3 separate regions of the Homo sapiens genome follow, and all the other regions are linked to region 1. The links are contacts of gene promoters, found by promoter capture Hi-C in blood cells and fetal thymus (Javierre and others, 2016). All regions are on one chromosome and are shown on one strand. Each heading gives the region's core, a stretch centred on a gene start or on the middle of the fragment in contact. The rest is flanking DNA. Distances are from core to core; before and after follow the strand shown.

Region 1 (3,118 bases), core at 214-2,713:
CACGCCCGGCTAATTTTTACGTTTTTAGCAGAGACGGGGTTTCACCACGTTGGCCAGGCTGGTCTCAAACTACTGACCTCAAGTGATCCGCCCGCCTTGACCTCCCAAAGTGCTGGGATTACAGGCGTGAGCCACTGTGCCTGGCCTATAGTTAAGATTTTTATATTCATTTTTAGTGAATGTTATACCGTATACCGTAAGTACTCTCCCCCCACAATCCTTCTGCCTCTCATCTTCCCTTTTCCATTTTCCTAATACCTCCTACTGCCTCCTCTCAACTACCCTTGTGTGTTTCTTCATCTTTCTCCGTGCTTATTCAAAAATATCCTGCCACACACACACACACAGGCTTCTCTTTTTGTTATTCAGACATTTAAAAAAATTAATTCTTGATCATTCAACTTGATTATTTAGACATTTCTGTACAGCCATCTTTTCTCGTTTACCACCACATCATGGCTGTCTGCCCCTCTACATCCGCACACGGAGCTCTAACGCATGCTTGTTAAACAGCCTTCGTAATAGTCTTTAAAGATCAACCACACTGTTCCCACGTAACCCTACCTCCCAGGTAGGGTTCCCCCAGTAACACTTTCACACATAACTTATTTACTGTTCCTTTTACTTCTGGAAGATTCCGAGAGGAAAGATTGCTGGGTCAAAGGTCACACGCGTTTTCAATTTTAATAGCTATTCCTGGATTACCTCCTCAAAGGGCTCTAACAACTCGCATTGCTCTCAGCGTGTGAGAGGGTCCTTTGCTCTGAAGGGTCTTCTAAAATATTTGTTCAATCGTTACTTAGCAGGGGCTGGGAGTAACGGATTTTATTTTATTTTATTTTATTTTTTGAGACGGAGTCTCGCTCTGTCGCCCAGGCTGGAGTGCAGTCGCGCAATCTCGGCTCACGGATTTGCTCTTTTAAAGGACATACCCTTTTATGTTTAAATGAAGGAACTCATTGATGCACCGAGGCGAAAGGAACCTTTAATTAAGTGCGTCTTCTATGCGGAGTGATCGCTTTTGTCACTTGTTCGAGGGGTGAGAGCTCCCGTCAGTTGTCCCTGTTTCTGTGAGCCGTCTACGAAGCCCGGGCTTGGCCTGGGCGACGCTGAGCGGCTTTAACCGGCGGCGTCCAGCCGGCTCCGCCAGCGCTGCCGCCGCCCTCGAGGCTCCCTCTGACTGAAGGCGCGCTGAGCATCGCGGCATTAGGGGCTCCTGGTCCCTCAAACATCCAGGGAAGCCATTTTCAGGGACTAGGTACTGACCCCCGCGAGCCGCCACAGCCACAGCCCGCGCTCCGGGCCGAACGCCCGAGCTCAAGAGCTCCCGAGCTTCCGTCGGGCGGCGGCCTCACAGCTGGGGGCCCTGAGGCGGAAGGCGCAGCCGCTCAGCTGCGGACCGGGGGCGTGGCGAGGGCGCACAGGTTCTGTTTTTCGCCGGCCCGGGGCCGCTTTCGGTTTCGTTTCCCGCCGGCGTCTCCACCCTGCGAGAGCCGCCCGCCAGCCAGCGTCCGCCGCCGTCCGCGTCGCGCCACCCGCGGTCCGACGGGAGCAGGCCCAGCGGCCATGGCCCAGGCCGGCGTCGTCGGTGAGGTCACCCAGGTGCTGTGCGCGGCCGGGGGCGCCCTGGAGTTGCCCGAGCTGCGGCGCCGCTTGCGGATGGGCTTGAGCGCCGACGCGCTGGAGCGGCTGCTGCGGCAGCGTGGGCGCTTCGTGGTGGCGGTGCGGGCGGGCGGCGCAGCCGCGGCCCCGGAGCGCGTGGTGCTGGCCGCCTCGCCGCTGCGCCTGTGTCGCGCGCACCAGGGCTCCAAGCCGGGCTGCGTGGGGCTCTGCGCGCAGCTCCACCTCTGCAGGTTCATGGTCTACGGCGCCTGCAAGTTCCTGAGAGCCGGGTAAGGCGCCGCGCCGGGAGCGACGGCGGGCGGAGGTCCTGCGCGCCCTCACGCACTTCCAGCCCGCTTGGGGGTCCTACTTGAAGTTTGAGCAGACAATTCGGTGGCTCTGCCCTGACCTCGCACCGTCATTCACTAAAGCGAGCGTTTAATGAGCACCTGCGGAGTACCTGGCACAGTGCGAGGGACTCAGGGTCGAGTGGGGTCCTCTAGACGCCTGGGGGGAGAGAGTGATTTACATAGAGCATGGTAGTGCCGGGTGGAACACCCGGGTGTGGCCGTGTGGGGTGGGGAGGGAGGGAGGCGGCGGCTTAGGGGAACTCCACGACGCCGCGGGTCGCCCCTTGCCAGCTTTGAGGCCAGACAATGAAGGTTTTCTCTGCCCAGCAGCTGGTAGAGATCTTTAAACCCAGTTCAACCCTATTAATCTGCTTACAAACTGGAAAATGCAGACTCCCTGCCATCGCCCACAAGGTCCTGGGGCACTGGTCCCTGCCCACCCAGGACCCTTCTGTGACTGGAACACCCCCCCCCCCCCGGGCATTTCTGGGAGCCTGGGCATTTCTGGGAGTCTTTGCTCTGCCTGGAATGCCCTTCTTGCTCTTGGTTGGCCCTATTTGTTAATCCTTCAGGCCTCAACCTAAAGATCACATCCCATTTGAGGATTTTTCCTCCCCTTACTCTTGGTCACAGGGAACTGTTTATTTTCCTCATGGCACCCAGCTGCCAGTAGAATAGAAACTCCCTGAGGGCAGAGGCTCCAGCTGTCTCCCCAGCACTTAGCGTCCATGTTCTGTGCATAGCATGTGGCCAGTGGGATGTGTGGAAGGGATTGCTGAGGTTTATGCTAAAGAATTTGGGCCTCACCCTGGAGGTGATGGGGCGGGTAAAATGGCAGGAGAGAGCAACCATCAGGTTTGCGTTTTAGGAAGTCTAAGGTAGTGGTGTGGGTGCCAATTTAAGGGAGGATGTTGTGGGGGAACCACTGGGAAGCTAGTCATCAAGGAGAATTCCTTCCTCCCCTGCTCCCTCCTTTCTTGCTTGCTCCCTGTTTTGTGTGTGTGTGTGTATGTTTGTCTTAATAGAGTAGATATTTCTTGCTCATGTCAGGCCCAGTAGTGAGCATGGGGTGGGGGCCTTGATCCATACAGTCATTCAGGGATGCAGGCTGACTGACCTCCGCTCTGTGCCCCTCAGCACATGGCTCTTGAGGCCAGCCTAGGTTA
Region 2 (3,250 bases), core at 338-2,837, 570 kb after region 1:
AAATGATTTTGTCCTCGGGGGCCTGGTGTCTCTGATGGGTACTCAGTAGTAGGAGTGTCTATTCCCTTAGGGAGGAGGGTGGACCTCAGTGGATCCATGGACTTGGTCCCAAGATCGTTAGAGATGTTAGATTTGTCCCTTAGAAGATCACTTCTATATATCGGAGGCAGTGACTCATGCCTGTAATCCCAGTACTTTGGGAGGCTGAGGTGGGCGCATCACTTGAGCTCAGGAGCTCGCGACTAGCCTGGGCAACTTCGCAAAACCCGTCTCTAAAAAAAAAAAAAAAAAAAAAAAATTAGCCTGGTGTAGTAGCACACACCTGTAATCGCAGCTGCTCAGGAGGCTGAGGCATGAGAACCATTTGAACCTGGGAGGCGGGGATTGTAGTTAGCAGAGATCGAGCCACTGCACTCCAGCCTGGGCAACAGAGTGAGACTCTGTCTCAAAAAAAAAAAAAAAAAGACGGTCACATCTACGGAAGGGTTTTGTTCACTTCAGCCAGAGCTAAGTGATGGCTGACAATTTCCACTTGTCTGACGCCCTCATGATGTTTTTTTGTTTGTTTGTTTGTTTGTTTGTTTTTTGAGATGGGGTCTCGCTCTGTTGCCCAGGCTGGAGTGCAGTGGCACAATCTCAGCTCACTTTAACCTCCGCCTCCTGGGTTCAAGCGATTCTTCTCCCTCAGCCTCCTGAGTAGCTGGGATTACAGGTGCCTGCCACCACGCCTGGCTAATTTTTGTATTTTTAATAGAGGTGGGGTTCTATCATGTTGCCCAGGCTGTTCTCGAACTCCTGAGCTCAAGTGATCCGCCCACCTCAGCCTCCCAAAGTGCTGGGATTACAGACAAGAGCCACTGCGTCCGGCTTCAAGATGTTTATGATTAGGACCCAAACTGGTCCAACTTTCTTTCTCATTCTCCCATTCATCTGACCCTGATCCTCCTCTACTCTTCACCCTTAACATATTTATATCTGCTTAGAATTCAGCAAAGCGAAACTCTGCATCCTGAAAACCTGAGCAGGCATTTTGGACCACATGTTCATGGCAACATAATCTGGATCATATTCACTGGGTCTGTGGTAGGGAACGTTCTCACTTTGCATTAAGAAAAGGACAACCAGATACCAACTTTTAGAAAATGAAATTAAAAATTTTAGCAAAGCATTTAAACTATTTTCTTTTTTTTTTTTTTTTTGAGATGGAGTCTCGCTCTGTCACCCAGGCTGGAGTGCAGTGGCGCAATGTCGGCTCACTGCAACGTCCACCTCCCAGGTTCAAGCAATTCTCCTGCCTCAGCCTCCTGAGTAGCTGGGACTGCAGGCGTGCACCACGTCCAGCTAATTTTTTCGTATTTTTAGTAGATACGAGGTTTCACCATGTTGGTCAGGCTGGTCTCGAACTCCTAATCTCAAATGGTCCACCTGCCTCGGCCTCCCAAAGTGCTGGGATTACAGGCATGAACCACCATGCCCGGCCTCAACTATTTTCTGAAGTAGATTTCCCCTGAAGCCAGAGGCTCCTCATCGGACATTTATTCTTCTCTAACTGACGAATGCGGCTTTTACTCGGGAGAAAAGCCTCTTTATGGGCTGTGACCATCTTCCTCCAGCCACCTGACTCCTCGTATTTGACAGGCTGGTGATCATGTTATGCTTGTACCACAAAGGACTGTGCAGATATCTGACCGGATATTCTCGCTGCTTGAAAAGCACATGTCTGATTCAACCCCGCGTGGTGCTGTCATGAAACCCTCCTCCCCAGCCAAGCCATATGCATGGATGTTAGTGTTGATGTGTTGTAGTGTCGTTGTGTGCCCCCAATCTCCCTTAAAGGCCATGGTTATTGCCAGAGTTATTAACCTGGGCCAAGGAGGGTCTGTCCTCACAACTCCCACTTTCAGGGGAATGAGGGAATTTCAGGCTTTTTCCGGGCCACAGTTGATTTGCACCCTTGAGGGTGGTCCCAACAGGTACAGAAGAGCTTGGCACAAAATGCCCATGGATAGCAAGTCCTGGCTGGGTTGTTCCCCCTGCCATTGCCAGTTTTGGGTTAATAGGGGCACTGAGGGCTGGATGTGTGGCGGGAGGTGGAGTGTAACCCTGAGCCCCTAGAGAAAAGGGACACGTGGTTTGGATTAAGGTCCAAAGGAGGATCTGGCCTTGAAGTGTGCTGGTTTTGGGGCCTGCAGGATGGAGTGACTGTGATTTGGGAGCAGGGTGTGGGGAATCCCTGGATTCTAGGGCTGCTCCCTTTTGGGGTGTGTGAGTGTCCCTGGAGAGGCACGGTGGTCATGTGAGACCCCTCCTCTGTTTCACACAGGCAAGTCCTTGAGTGTTCAGAATCCTCCCAATATCCGACAGCTCTCAGGAAGCATACTCTCCTGTCCTGAGGTGGGCAGAGGAGATGGAGAGAACAGGTGAAGGCAGGTCACAGAAGCAAGACAGGACTGACACGCACCAGGGCCTGGCTGGGCAGTGGACCTCAGACTGAGGACAGGCAGAGGTGGCCAGGCCAGTTCAGTCCTGATAGAGCCAACTCCAGGGCCCGAGAGACCATCAGGCAAAACTGACCCCCCAGAGGGCTGTGGCGCTGCTGAGGCTTTGCGTCTCCCCTTTAATCCTGAGCAGCCCAGGCTGCTCGCTGCCTCCAGCCCTGCTATCTACCCTGACATCCAGCTTTCCTGCAGTGGCCTGACTTCCCTGGGAGGACCAATCTCTTAGATCCAGGTGGAACCAGAATCTGGTGGGTTTTAAATGAATTCAGTCTCTTTGTCCTCATCGAGCTCCACACAGTCGGGCCAAAGTGGGTAGTCAGGGTCTTGTGAGGAGACCCCCACATCTTCCTCTGCAGTCTAGCAACCCATTGGGGCCCAGGCACAGGCTCTAGGAGAGGGGCTGTTCACCAGGGCTGCGCATTCAGCAGAGCAGGCTGTGGGCTGCTTAGCCCCAGCGGGTGCCATTCACCCAGTGCAGATGTGAATGAGATCCCTGGAGTGGAGCAACTCATCATCCCTGCTCCTGACAGCAGTGACAAAAACACCCCGCTGATGGGTAGAGAGAGTCTGGTTTAAAATTAGCTCTTTCACTTTCCTATTGAGTCATTACCCCCCCCCCAAAAAAAGAGAGATTTTCTGCTTCCTCCTCTGAAGAGGGCAGTTGGACTTTTTATCCTGAAAATGGAAGTGTGCCTAGCCCCAGGGGAGAGTTGAGTGTTTTGTTTTTAAAAGCCTAGACTCATAAAATAATA
Region 3 (3,111 bases), core at 543-3,042, 700 kb after region 1:
GACGCCGCTCGCCGCCACCGTCGCCACGACGGGAGCGCGCACGCTCCTCGCGCTCAGTCGTTTCCCGCGGGGGCTCCACCAACTGGCGTCCAGCTGTATCACTCCGCCCGCCCCGCCCGAGTGGAGTTCCACCCTAACGGCTCTGGGCGCGTGCACGCGCGCTCCTCCCGCCCCTTTACCCCGGATCTCGCGATACTCTGGTTCCTTAACTGACTGTGCAAGCCGGATCCGCCCCGAGGCGCCAAACCTTACATTACATTCCCTCCCGGCTGTAGGGCTGGCGGCTAAGGCTGCGCTGCCCGCGGTGATGGCGATTCAGACCCAAATTAGCAAAATGCGCTAGAGGTTAGCCTGGGCGGAAAGTAAGTAGAGACCATGCCCATCGTCGACCGGACTGCGGTCAGCCTCCTTGGCGTCTGAGGTGGGCGTGCTCGGGGCGAACGCCCGCCCCGAGTGGCGTGGACGCGTCCTGGTTCTCGTGCGCCTTTCCCGGCCGGGAGCAGGCCTGTCTCGCCGCCGCCGGGGCCGCGTTCCTTCCGCTGCGTGGGGCTTTAAGGCTCCTCGGCTGGGAAGTGTCAACTTCAGGAGAAAGCGCCCGAAAGCAGTACCCTAGGAAACAGGCGCGCCGACCCATTCGGATTCATCTTTACCTACAAGGTCGCGGGCGGCTTAGTCTGAATGTGAAACCATAAAAACTCAGCGTATTCTCAGCTACTGGGGAGGCGATCTCGGGGAGCAGGGAGCCAGCGGCGCTGGCCGCAGGGAAGCCTGGATTCTGAAGCCCGGCCCGTGACTGGGGCCTTGGCTTCAGTTCTACCCCTCGTAGGGCTGGTGGAGGTGGTCACACGTCTGCTATGGCGTGGCTGTTAGAACAAACTGGAATAAAATACTTAGCCCTGAGCCTTTCCCTGGTGTTTCTAAAAACTGTTTTAGTAAAATATTAATTCCTTGCCGGGCGCGGTGGCTCACGCCTGTAAACCCCGCACTTTGGGAGGCCAAGGGAGGTGGATTGCCTGAGGTCAGGAGTTCAAGATCAGCCTGGCCAACATGGTGAAACCCTGTCTCTACTAAAAATATAAAAATTAGCCGGGCGTGATGGCGGGCGCCTCCCCAGCTACTCGGGAGGCTGAGGCAGGAGAATCGTTTGAACCCGGGAGACGGAGGTTGCAGTGAGTCGAGATGACGCCACTGCGCTGCAACCTGCGCGACAGAGCGAGACTTCTAAAAAAAAAAATTCCTTAAGTAAGACATAGGTCAGTGTGCAGGAAGAAAGGTTGCTTAAAAAGAAATCTAAAACTGTAAGAAAAATGAATGAGTTAATAAAACCAAATGTTTAAGAAGACAGGCACTTTCTAGATACTTTGAAAGGACATAATAGAGATTTGTGTTCCATTAACACTGTATATTCATCGCCTAAAAAGAAATTTAAAACTGTAAGAAGAATGAGTTAATAAAATCAAATGTTTAAGAAGACAGGCACTTCCTGGATACTTTGAAAGGAAATAATAGAGATTTGTGTTCCATTAACACTGTATACTCATCGCCTTGGAACTGTTATTAGCAGATCAATAAAAAACATGAATAGTAGTAATAGTCCCAAAATTCCTTTAAATGTATATTGCGGCTGGGAGGGATGGCTCATGCCTGTAATCCCAGTACTTTGGGAGGCAGAGGCGGGCGGATCACCTTGAGGTCAGGAGTTCGAGACCAGCCTGACCAACATGGTGAAATTCCATCTCTACTAAAAATACAAAAATTAGCCGGGCATGGATGCGCGTGCCTGTAATCCCAGCTACTCGGAGGCTGAGGCAGGAGAATCACTTGAACCCGGGAAGTGGAGGTTGCAGTAAGCCGAGATTATGCCACTGCACTCCAGGCTGGGTACAAAGCAAGACTCTATCTCAAAAATAAATGCGTATTGGGCCAATGAAAATTTTTGAGGTCGGACGCAGTGGCTCACACCTGGAATCCCAGCACTTTGGGAGGCCGAGGCGGGCGAATCACGAGGTCGGGAGTTTGAGACCAGCCTGCCAACATGGTGAAACCCTGTCTCTACTAAAAATAGAAAAAATGAGCTGGGCGTGGTGGCGCATGCCTGTAGTCCCAGCTACACCGGAGGCTGAGGCAGGAGAACCGCTTGAACCCAAGAGGCGGAGGTTGCAGTGAGCCGAGATCGCGCCATTGCACTCCAGCCCTGGTGAGTGTGAGACTCCATCTCAAAAAAAAAAAAAAAATTATTTTGAATCAAGTTATCTTTAGTAATACACAAAATAGCTTCTCTTCAGTTATTCAGAGAACTCTGAATTCCAAACTCCAAATACTAGGATATCCTTTGGGAACTGATTTATAATAATAGAAAAATGTGCAAATTAATATGTCTTTGAGGGATACACTATTATGTACACAATGTGATCTGACCCTGAAAAACAGTGTATTTAAAGAAATACACTAAAACCAATAATTATGTTTTGTTGAAGAGATTTGAGTTCTTTTTTTTATTTTAGATGTCTTATAAACAGCATATAATTGGGGCTTAAAAATAGTCTATACAATACATAATGATCAAAATTGAGGAGTGAAATTGAGGAGTGAATTAAGTGATGTTCACTCTTGGAAGCATTGATGATTTATATTCATGTAATTACTCCTGTGTTTGGGTTTAAAACTCTTATTTTTGCCTATTTGTCTCATCTATTTCATGTTTTTCTCTCCTTTCCTGCCTGATTTTTAATCATTCCAATTTCTTCCACTCTAGTAGTGTGGAAGTTTCATTTTATTATATTTTTATTCTTTCAGTGATTACCCTAGAAGTTATAATGTGTATCCTTAAGGTATCAAAGTCTAATTTAATCAATACCTTTATACTCCCCTCCCCCAAGAGAGGTAATACAAGGAACCTAGAACACTAACTCCATTTACTCTCATCCCAAGTTATATGCTCTTGTTACCAGGTCTTTTAGTTCTCTTATTTTTTAAAACCAAGTTTTATATAATCAATGTTCTTTATTTACCACTTATTTTGCTCTTCATTCCTTCGGAAATCTCTGCCTGTCCATCTGGGATCATTTCCTTTTTGTCTGAAGTTTATCCTTTAGCACAGGAGTCAGCAAG

What was found. Contacts are between HindIII fragments. The CHiCAGO score rates a contact against its expected background, and 5 or more counts as called.
Region 2: a contact is called between a fragment that was not itself captured here and the fragment with the promoter of PARP12 in region 1, in 1 of 17 cell types (monocytes). The highest score is 5.1, in monocytes.
Region 3: a contact is called between a fragment that was not itself captured here and the fragment with the promoter of PARP12 in region 1, in 1 of 17 cell types (M0 macrophages). The highest score is 5.1, in M0 macrophages.

The regions. Positions count from the first base shown.
Region 1 is chr7:140,061,296-140,064,413 of GRCh38, reverse strand. PARP12 (poly(ADP-ribose) polymerase family member 12) reads left to right here and starts at 1,463. Exons shown (of 12, transcript NM_022750.4): 1 at 1,463-1,892. The coding sequence starts at 1,567. RefSeq lists an enhancer at 1,316-1,525 and a silencer at 1,536-1,855. The HindIII fragment of the contact is 6,136 bases long and covers 1-3,118 here.
Region 2 is chr7:139,495,188-139,498,437 of GRCh38, reverse strand. No RefSeq gene overlaps it. Among named protein-coding and RNA genes, the nearest start is that of KLRG2, 13 kb to the right of the region's middle. RefSeq lists an enhancer at 2,676-2,855. The HindIII fragment of the contact is 3,389 bases long and covers 1-3,250 here.
Region 3 is chr7:139,356,819-139,359,929 of GRCh38, reverse strand. The region is part of intron 2 of FMC1-LUC7L2 (FMC1-LUC7L2 readthrough); the gene reads right to left. LUC7L2 (LUC7 like 2, pre-mRNA splicing factor) reads right to left here and starts at 36. Exons shown (of 10, transcript NM_016019.5): 1 at 1-36. RefSeq lists enhancers at 2-51, 772-901. The HindIII fragment of the contact is 5,233 bases long and covers 1-3,111 here.